2 separate regions of the Homo sapiens genome follow, and region 2 is linked to region 1. Evidence: promoter capture Hi-C in human tissues and cell types (Jung and others, 2019). All regions are on one chromosome and are shown on one strand. The core of a region is centred on a gene start or on the middle of the fragment in contact, and the rest is flanking DNA. Distances in the headings are between cores, read along the strand shown.

The links. The method cuts DNA at HindIII sites, captures the fragments that hold promoters and counts their contacts. A contact is called where the count stands out against the background at its distance.
Region 2: a contact is called between a fragment that was not itself captured here and the fragment with the promoter of YPEL2 in region 1, in 1 of the 25 tissues and cell types used here (spleen).

The regions. Positions count from the first base shown.
Region 1 is chr17:59,329,000-59,334,279 of GRCh38, forward strand. YPEL2 (yippee like 2) reads left to right here and starts at 2,656. Exons shown (of 5, transcript NM_001005404.4): 1 at 2,656-2,825. RefSeq lists a silencer at 2,422-2,941 and an enhancer at 3,152-3,713. The HindIII fragment of the contact is 13,001 bases long and covers 1-4,120 here.
Region 2 is chr17:59,603,632-59,608,911 of GRCh38, forward strand. DHX40 (DEAH-box helicase 40) reads left to right here. Exons shown (of 18, transcript NM_024612.5): 16 at 1,484-1,553; 17 at 1,815-2,043; 18 at 3,402-4,714. The coding sequence ends at 3,541. Among named protein-coding and RNA genes, the nearest start is that of CLTC, 14 kb to the right of the region's middle. The HindIII fragment of the contact is 7,902 bases long and covers 1-5,280 here.

The DNA of each region.
Region 1 (5,280 bases), core at 1,406-3,905:
AAGATGTAATTAATTATTTCAAATTAATAATGTGAAGGTTGAGAGGTTAAGTAAGGTGAACACATAAAAGTGACTCTGTTCACAGCAGCAGTAGCACCAATATGGCAACAGCGGGAAGATGGGATTAGTGAGAGGTTGCTGGAAAATAATTCCGTGAAGGCTCTGGGAATGAATGAATTTGGCTTCACACAGAGGAGACAGAGGTACTGTTCCATTGACAAAGGCAGGCTGATAATCTGTGAGGCCAGGAATCTCTCAAACTTTTACCAGCAAGGGTTTTTGTTTGTTTGTTTGTTTAAGCCTTGGCTGACTCTGAACAGATCTGTTTATTTCTCTCTCTCTCTCCATCTCTTTTTGCTTTCCAGGATAAACATCTGTCTCATTTCACCAACTCTCCATTGGCCTCAGCGTCTCTCCTCTCAGTAGATTCTTCAGAATACTATCATCCAAGTCAAGCAGGGAATTCTGCTCATAGTAGGCACTGAGAAAATGTATTGAGGGACAATTCAAGTGCCCCCTCTGGGTTCAGAGAAGTTGCATCTATTACTTTGTTTCACTTACTTCATTGTTTCACCTCTCCCTTCTCCTTTACCAGCTCAAAATGCTTGGCTCTTTTTGACTGGGAGGAGGCATGATCAGGCTTAACACTTTTTTTGTTATTGGCCGGCTGGCTGGTTTTATTGTCTCCTGACCCTAAGGTCTGGGGCCTCTTCCAGTCCCCTGCATACACACAGCAGGCCTGAAGGGGTCCTCAGAGCTCCCTCTGAAACCACTGTATCAGGCTAGTCTTCTTTAGCTAACGTTATCTTTTATTTAAACAGAAACAGTAGCCACCAGTCTTGTTACATAACATACCAATATCCTAGGGTGTTAAACTAATTCAGCATCTACTGTTAGGAAGTGGTGATGTGGCAACACAAATATTCGCTCACACAATATTGCGGAAACGTTGTAACAAACATGACTTTCTGGCCCTACTTAGAATTTCAGAGCTGGAAGGGACTTGAGATCATCCTATTTCAACCCTCCTTGTTTTAAACTGTGGAAACCTAGGCCTGGAGAGACAAAGAAACTTGCTCAAGAAGCAGATCAGGGCGAGACGGCAAGCTCTTACTAATCTAAAGAATCCATCACATCTTAGATTAAGGATTAAATGCTAAACAGTTCTTGTTTGTGATTCCTCTCATCTGAAAGCATTCCCCCCCCCCCCCCGTTTTAGACTCTCCAAACTAGTCAGTTGTGAACCAGGACATAGCCTTTGTTTACACTGAAACTGCAAATCTGAGGCTGATATGTCAGCCCCACAATACTGAGGTATTTGGGGTGTTTTGTTGTTTTTACTAACCTTGGTGACTGGATTCACATGCAATAGATATTAACTGAATACAATTTGGTTGACCAAGCATATTTTAAAAACAGCTGGGTGGAGATGCAGGTGAGCCAGCATTCTGGGTGTACGTGCAAACCAGTGTGTGGAAGGCGGAGAGTCAGCTGCACCTCCTGCAGCACCTCACATCCTGATGGCTGCACAGTAAAACACTAGTTTCCTTGGAGGAAGAGTTCCCAGAGGAACTGCGGAACCCCAGTGTCTTGAGCGAAAGGCAGGACCTGCTTTGTTCACCTTGTCCGTGCCAACATTCTTTATCAAACTGTCCTGTTTTCCTGCTGGGAAACTGCCCCACTCCACCCACCTGGTGCCTCCCTGGTTTCCTGACTGCCACGAGGTTATTTTTTAACCTGCTCTTCCTTGAAAAGCACCACCCCGGTGACCCAGAACGTGGACTCCTCCCCTCTGGTCACTCGGACCATCCCACTCTAATTACCGTCATCTGCCTCTGAAAGTCATGGAAAATTAGCAGCAATGGGGCGGTCTTCAATTCCACTAAGCCCCTTTCGTACTTTTAATTCGCCGAAATTACTAGCAGGGCAGAGAGAAGAGGGGAAATGCCTGGCTTCTGAGCAAGGCATGGGTGGGCTGGGTGCAACTAGCACTATCATTTTCTTTTAATTTTATTATTATTATACTTTAAGTTTTAGGGTACATGTGCACAATGTGCAGGTTTGTTACATATGTATACATGTGCCATGTTGGTGTGCTGCACCCATTAACTCGTCATTTAGCATTAGGTGTATCTCCTAATGCTATCCCTCCCCCCTCCCCCCTATCATTTTAAATTCAATTACCCGGGGCCTGAGGGCCACTTCTGGTAACTTAGGCTATGGCTTAGGGCGAGGTTTAAAACGTAAGAAAGGAATGACTATCTTGAGCCTCCAGGGAGATGCACTGCAAATCCCCCCGCCCCAAAATACAACCCAGGTTCTGGGAATCCCAGCCCTGCCCTGGGGACAAACCCCAAACTCAAATAAACGGCCTCCTCCTAGGCGCTGAGAGCCCACCCAGCTTTGGCACTCTGGGTCCCTGCCCTCCGGCAAGTTGCCGGGACGGGCGGGACCCTAACCAGCCGCTCTCCCCTAGCCCAGGCTGGGCCGGGCCGAGGGGTGGGGGAGTGGGCGGTCGGGGAAGCGGGGGGCGGAGTTCCGTCCTCTGATGATTGGCTCTGCGCGGATGGGCTGCGGCTGCGCCCGGCCAACCCGCGGCGTGTTGCTATGTGCTGAGCCGAGGGGATAGGTGCGGGGGCGCGTCCATCACGGGGTAGCCCCCGGCCCGGACCCGGAGGGATGCGGAGTGGCGGCCGCGGCGGTGGCGGAGACTGTGGCTTTAAGAGCGTGCCGGGAGCCCGAGCCCCAGCCGGGCCGCGCTTCGCCGCTGCGCACCCCAGCGGAGCCAAGCCCCACGCTGGCCGGACAGGGCCGCCTGTCGCCGGGTAAGTGCACCGGAGTGCGGCGCGGGCCGGGCGCGCGTGGGCGTGGGGCGCGCTGTCAGCTCGGGCTCTGGGTCCCCGGCCCCGGCCTCCGGACTCCCCCGGCCGGGCCTGCGCGGGGTTGGGGGTGCGGCGCCCTCGGTTCCGCGTGGGGTCCCCGTGGGCGCCGGGGACGGGGAGCGGCCGCCGGGCCACGTGACCGGTTTGTTTACAAACACTGCCGGGCCCGCGGCCGCTCGCGGAGGGAGCCCAAGGGCGCGGGACCCCCGGCCGGGGCGGGAGACGCGCGCCAGGGGCTGGGCGAGTCTGCGGGGCCAGGTTTGGGGCGGGGGTGCGGAGCTGGAATCGCCGCTTCCTCCTCCGCGTCGTCCCCATGGGTTCGGACTCCATGGGGTCCGGGTGGGGCTGGGGACGCCCTCCGTCCTCTCGTGACGCCGCGTTTCCCTCGGAGAGTCCTGGGGACACTTAGGTCCAGGGGCGCCGCCCTGGGGGCCTTCCACTGTGGGACTGGGCGCCCTCGAAATTTCTCGGAGCGCGTCGTCTGCCCCGACCCGGGTCGAGGTAACCGCAGCCGAGTTCCTCCCTGGCCGCGTCTCGGCGCCTCCCCGGTGTCCTTGCCAAGGGGGTGGGCGCGAGGTCCTGCCCGACGGAACGCGGGAGCCTCTGCCGCGAGCGCCTCCCCGGAGCTGGCGCTTAGGGGCGGCCCCGACCTTTCGCCACTTCCAGTTCACCCTGCTTGGCCGCCGACCTCCTCTGGTGTCTTTCCCGGAGTGGTGGGCTTTTCTCCGGTCTTGGGGGCGTGCGGGGGTGGGGGACACCTGTTCTTCTGGACTTCTTGTCCGGAAGATTGCTACCTCTGCCTTCAGTCTTAGCTGCGAGAGTTTAAAAAGCCAGGTGAGCGAGTGTCTTGTTTTCCTCCGCTTGGAGCGGAGCTGCACCCTCGCCCGCCCCCCAGTCCCGCCGCTGTGAAAGGCCCCAGAGAACTGCTCCGAAGCTTTGCTGGGGTTTTTGCTTTCTGGCCTCCTTGCTGATTTGCTGTCCTTGCAACTTGGGAGGCTCTTGAGTGAGTCCTTGCCTTTGGTGAATCTGAAGGCTAACGAGACAGCTGTCTTTTCCTCCCTGCCCTTCCTTCCTTGTTCTTCCTTGTTCCAAAGCATTGGGCAAGAAGGGTAGCGGTCAGCTTCCCTGTGCCTCACAGAGCATTAAAGATGCAAGAAGTTCAGTAAACCGCCTCACTGGCTCTGGGGTGGGACTTGATTTCACATGGTTATTGCTCCCCCGTGCTTTCCTGCCTCTGGGGGCCACAGGGCCTATGAATGGCTGAGTCTTGCCTCCGGTGAGGAACATTTTCATTCTTCTAAACTGTGTTTTGAGTGGCTGCAAGTTCTTTTCCCCAGAAACAGGCCCAGCCTGGGGAGAGCTGTGCAGACTTCCCCCTTGGCACCATCCCCTGTCCCCAGCTCCATGATAGGATCTCAGGCAGGAGTGCAGTGGGAGCCTCATCCGCTTCCTCAGTTGGGCTTTGCCGCCGCAGGTTAGCATTCAATGACAGCATTTCTTGGATCTGTCTTGATATTTCTGTGCTTGAACCAAAATCAAGAAGCTTAGAGTTAGGGGTGGAAAATGGAAAATAAACACCATGCGCGAGAAAACTGTTTTCCTTCTTCCCTCTAGGAGCATGGTTTTCAGACTTTGAGTGGGACCTGCACTGCATACAGGTCTGTAACTGAAATAAGTTTCAGAGAACAATAATTACCCTTACTCCCTGCAGTGTGCTCTGTTTTAAAGGTTTTTTTTTCTACTTCATTTAAAAAAATCAACTGCTGGTTATGACCCATTAATTTGATTTCCTGACCAAGCAGGTCCTGACCCATAGTTTGAGAAGCATCGCTTTAAGGCAGAGGTCCTCAAACTTAAATGTGTATAAAGATGACCTGGGTAGTGTTTAAAAATAGTTTGTCAGGCTACTCCGCAGATGTTTATTTTCAGTGGGCCACAGGAATCTGCATTTTTACCAGGGGACCTATGAGATTGTGATGCAGGTGCTTGATAAGAGCCCCTGATCTAGTGGGAACTGGAGGCAGTGAACAATGAAAGGTATTAACTTGGCTCTGAAGTGCAGTCAGGTATGTGACCCCATACTCTGCAATCCCAAAATCACTCAGCTGCCAATCACACTAGCTTAGGCTTTGAAAAGTCTAAGGGCACAGTATTGTTTGTTCTCAACTGCCATGAAGCAGTTGGCTTTAAGAGACTGGTATCCCTCCCTCTCCACTCCAGCCTGTTTGAGGGCTGCTGCACAGTGTTGTGTACCAGGAGATGTTTCTAGGTGTGTGGGGGTTGGAGATGTGAGTAGTGCCGATGAGTTGCGTGAGTTGCTGTGCTGTTCATAGATTATGTGAATTCTTCATTGTCGTAATGATTTTCACGGTTTTGAGGCAGCCACACAGTCATTGTG
Region 2 (5,280 bases), core at 1,977-4,476, 280 kb after region 1:
GTGTCTATCGTGGTATAAATAAATGAGTAAAAGTTTATTGAGAAATGGAATTGTTTACAAGCACCTCTCCATAAAATTTTTGTTAATTACAAAAGCAAAAAGTAACTTTACAGTGGAGAATCCTGGCATATGTGACCTAAATCAAGCAATCAAAGTGAACATAATGAAATAAATAAAAATCATGTTCTTCCTGATAGGATACAATGAGAAAAACACAGCATTATGTCTGTGATATTCCTGCTAAAGATGCATAACCTGAATCTAATCATCCTGAAACAGACAAACTCAAACTGAGGGACATACCACACAGTAACTAGCCTTGACATCTTTAAAGGTGCCAAGATCATGAAAGTCAAAGACTGAGGAAGTATTCCAGAATGAAGGAGACCAAAGGGAAATGAAAAATAAAGGCAATGTATGATTCTGAATTACATCCTTTTGCTATAAAGGATATTATTAAGACAAATTGGTGAAATGTCAGTGGGGTCTGAGGATTAATTGTTAGTAATGTATCAGTGTTAATTTCCTGGTTTTGATGGTTATAGTCATGTCGGAGAATGTTCTTGATTGTTGATTGTAAGAAGTGCACAGTCGAGTATTTGAGGATGATGGGGTATTAGGTTGGCAGTTTGCTGTCAAATGATTCAGGTAAAAATTTTTTTACTCTCAACTTTTCTGTAAATTTAGATTGTTTCACACTTTTAAAAATATGGTATATCTTGGTTACCCTCTGTATGCCAAACACTGGGCAGGTACTAAAAATAGAAAAGTAGAGTAACATGAGTCCTTACATCATTCTTGATGATACCTGAGTCTAATGGAGGGTACAGATATGTAAGTGAATAATTACAGTGCAGTCTGATCTGGGTTATACTATGAATATATACAAAGTACTATAGGAAATAAATTATGACAAATGAACTAGGTTTATTTTTTTGACAAGTTTTTTGGAATGACATTTAGGTAGGGTAATGTAGAAGAAAATAAGGGCATGAATCGGAAAAATGATAGATTAATTGTCAAGTTTTAGAGTAGTGAAAAAATCATCCCTTTAAAAAGAGATGCAGCATAGTATAACATAAAGAAACCATATTTAAGTCAGAAGAACTGTTTAGGACTTGGTTTTACCATGCGTTAGCGCTGGTGATCTTGAGAAGTCTAGCTAATTTATTTGAATTTTAGTTTTGACTTTTTAATAAAGTTCCTGGCTCTCAAAGCTCATAGATTATTGTTAATATTTGTACTGATTCCTTATACCTAATTGTAGTGACTTATACCTAATTGTAGTGACTGTTTAACCTGTATAATTAATTTAAGATGAATTGGTAGAGAGCTTGTAGTGACAGTTGAATAAATGTAAACCTCTGCTTATAATGCTGTTTGTAGTAGAACATATTGTAATTGTTCATTGCTGAATGTAATGCTCCATTTACTTCATTGCTTTACTGTTGTAGTCTTTATCATTTTGTTTTTCTGTTTATAGATCTGTTGGGAGAACGTTTTGCACAATGGATGGTCGTGGAAGCCCAGTTCACATTCATCCTTCCTCAGCAGTAAGTACTTCATTTTTAATAAAGGGAAGAAATTTGTAAAGTTGTAGAAATAAGTAATATACAAATGTCTTCTACTTTTCACTTTGGAGTTAAATTTACATATATCTATATTACATAGATCTATAAGGGTATTGGTTGGCCTGTGCCTCCTGTTTGAAGAAGATAGGAATTAATTGAGAAGGATTTGGACTATTTGGTTGGTTTAATGTGGAATAGGGCAGGTTATTGAGTTACCATCATTAAAAGAAATGTTTTGTATAGCTTCATGAACAGGAAACCAAACTTGAATGGATCATTTTTCATGAGGTATTGGTTACCACCAAAGTCTACGCAAGAATTGTATGCCCAATCCGTTATGAATGGGTAAGAGACTTGTTACCCAAGTTGCATGAATTTAATGCACATGATTTGAGCAGTGTGGCCCGACGTGAAGTGAGAGAAGATGCAAGAAGGAGATGGACAAATAAGGAAAATGTAAAGCAGCTAAAGGGTGAGTAAATCATTTGTTCTACTCTTAACCACTATGCCATACTGCTTCCCAGTAGTACTTCACTATTTTTGTTTATAAAAATGTTGTGACCCACCTGGGCAATGTGGTGAGATCCCATCTCTAGCAAAATAAAAATAAAAATTAGCCAGGCATGTTGGTGTGCACCTGTAGTCCCAGTGACTTGGGAGGCTGATGCAGGAGGATCGCTTGAACCCAGGAGTTTGAGGCTGCAGTGAACTGTGATTTCACCAGTGCACTCCAGCCTGGGGGTGACAGAGTGAGACACTATCTCTAAAAAAAAAAAAGTGATGATTTATGCATTATTAACTCAGAATCCCCTTTGTTTCCAAGGGGCTTTTTCTTTCTTTCTTTCTTTTTCTTTCTTCTTTGAGACGGAGTTTTGCTCTTATTGCCCAGGCTGGAGTGTAATGGTGTGATTTTGGCTCACTGCAGCCTCTGCCTCCCGGTTCAAGCTATTCTCCTGCCTCAGCCTCCTGAGTAGCTGGATTACAGGCATGCACCACCACGCCTGGCTAAGTTTGTATATCCAAGGGGCTTTTTCTATGAAATAATTAGGACCCTGGTTGGGAGGCATAAATAGTTGTGGTACTGAAATAGGACAGAAAGTTTTTCAGCTCACATACACAGAAAACTTCTTAGTAAAGCTTTTTGAGGCTGAATGATGAAGCATATTGTATTTTCTTTATTTGACATCACTGCAAAATGGAATGGTGAAGAGTTTTGCCGAATAAATCATAGAAAAATCTTTAGAAATGTTAGCCACTAGGGAGGCCAGGCATGGTGGCTCACGCCTGTAATCCCAGCACTTTGGGAGACCAAGGCGGGCGGATCACGAGGTCAGGAGATCGAGACCATCCTGGCTAACACGGTGAAACCCCGTCTCTACTAAATATACAAAAAACTAGCTGGGTGTGGTGGCGGGCGCCTGTAGTCCCAGCTACTCGGGAGGCTGAGGCAGGAGAATGGCGTGAACCCAGGAGGCAGAGCTTGCAGTGAGCCGAGATTGCGCCACTGCACTCCAGCCTGGGCGACAGAGTGAGACTCCGTCTCAAAAAAAAAAAAAAAAAGAAAAGAAATCTTAGCCACTAGGTGTTCTATTACAGTGTAATAACACTGCCACATGCTTGAATTAGGGTCAGTTTTTCTGACTCATTGGCCTTGGTGCTCTTAATTTTGTAACCATAGACTACATTGCTTTTGAAAGGGCAAAATTTAATTTTTCTCTTTATTGTTTTTACTTTGTTAACACTGAAAAATCAGGGCTTCTCTTTCTCTTAACATTTCTAGTACTGAATCTCAAAGCTAAGTTTTATTGGATTAATTTGTAATGTTTTCAGATGGAATATCGAAAGACGTCTTAAAGAAAATGCAAAGAAGAAATGATGACAAATCCATATCTGATGCACGGGCTCGTTTCCTTGAGAGAAAGCAGCAGAGGACCCAGGACCACAGTGACACACGAAAGGAAACAGGCTAAGGTGGTGAACCCTCCAATTCAGGAAGTGGGAAAAGGAGCCAGGAAATGTGCTTCTACTTTGCCAGTTATTTCAGACAGCACTACCAAGAGGAGGTGGTCAGCACTTGTTATTGGCCTATGAACTAAAAGCAAATCAAAGCTCATAAATCAAAGCTCATCAGTTCCCATAAATGCAGTTGTCAAAGAAAAGATTTGGTTGCCATAGTCATAAGCAATGATACATGAAACCAATGAAAGACAGTACATGTAATAATATTTTCCTCAGTACAATTTTGCTGGCCTTAACTGGTATCAAACGCTGTCATTGAGATGTTTTCAAAGAACATTGAGTTGTATTTAATCAGCGTGTACTCCATTTGCATTGAAGCATTAAAAATTATTTTTCTTAAAATCTCTTTAAGGCCTTCTTGTTGCTGTTAGAATAGTGCTATATATCAGGTATGTGACCATTTATTTCAGAAGGCTGAACATAAGAGGTTTCTACTCAGCAATACTTAGATGTCTAACTGTTTAATTGCTACAGAGCTTTATAGATATTTAGAGAAAAGACTTAATCAATTAGTAAATAAAATTGCCTATGGCAGGATTCTTTCTTGAATTAATATTAATCCTTAAATTGATTTTTCTGGGATTATACAAATTCCTTTTTATATAAAAGTATATTGTTTAAAACAGTAGCTATAGCCATTAACCAAAGGACAGATGATATATATATATATGATATATATATATATATAAGTTCTTTTTTAGCTGTACCTACGTACTTATATCAGCACCATGTATGTAGGTGTGATAGTACTTTCAAACAGCGCCTCCACCTGGCCTACTCTGTTATTTCCACCTGTTTGGGTAGGGCCATTTAACTTCCATTATGCCAAACTTGGGATGGGATTTTCGAAGCAGACAACACTATTTCATCGTGTTTCAAATTGGAACCTTGAGGCTAGTTAGTATCACACTCAGGCCACACTCAGCACTTGCCCACTCTTGTTTACTGCCTTGTATTCTAGTTATTTGTGTATTTGTCTCCCTCACTAGATTATACGCTCCTTGTGGGCAGGGACTGTGTCTTTTTTCATCTTTGTATCTTTCATGCACCTAGCATAGTGCTTTGCACATAGTAGTCACTCAGTGTTTGTTAAATAAAGCTATTAGTGTCATTAAAATTCAAAAGACAGTATAATGTGTGTTTTTAGATATTTTGTGTAAAAATTAAGAATCTAAATTTTTTATCGGTAACTCTTCTAGTTATTTCCTTTGGAATCTAGTTTTATGTTCAATAATAGAAACTTGAAATCTTTATCAAAAATCACAAGGACCCAAATTCATGTATTTGTCCCTAAAGTAAGGTGAGTGATGATGGTTTCTCTAAACCTTTCCAGTGTTTTAATTTGTTAATTTTTTTTTTTTTTTTTTTGAGACGGAGTCTCACTTTGTCGCCCAGGCTGGAGTACGGTGGCATGATCTTGGCTCACTGCAAGCTCCGCCTCCCAGGTTCACGCCATTCTCCTGCCTCAGCCTCCCGAGTAGCTGGGACTACAGGCATCCACCACTATGCCTGGCTAATTTTTTGTATTTTTTAGTAGAGACGGGGTTTCACCGTGTTAGCCAGGATGGTCTTGATCTCCTGACCTCATGATGCGCCCGCCTCTGCCTCCCAGAGTGCTGGGATTACAGGCGTGAGTCACCGCGCCTGGCCTAATTTGTTCATTTTTATCTTTAGTGCTCTAGACACTGTT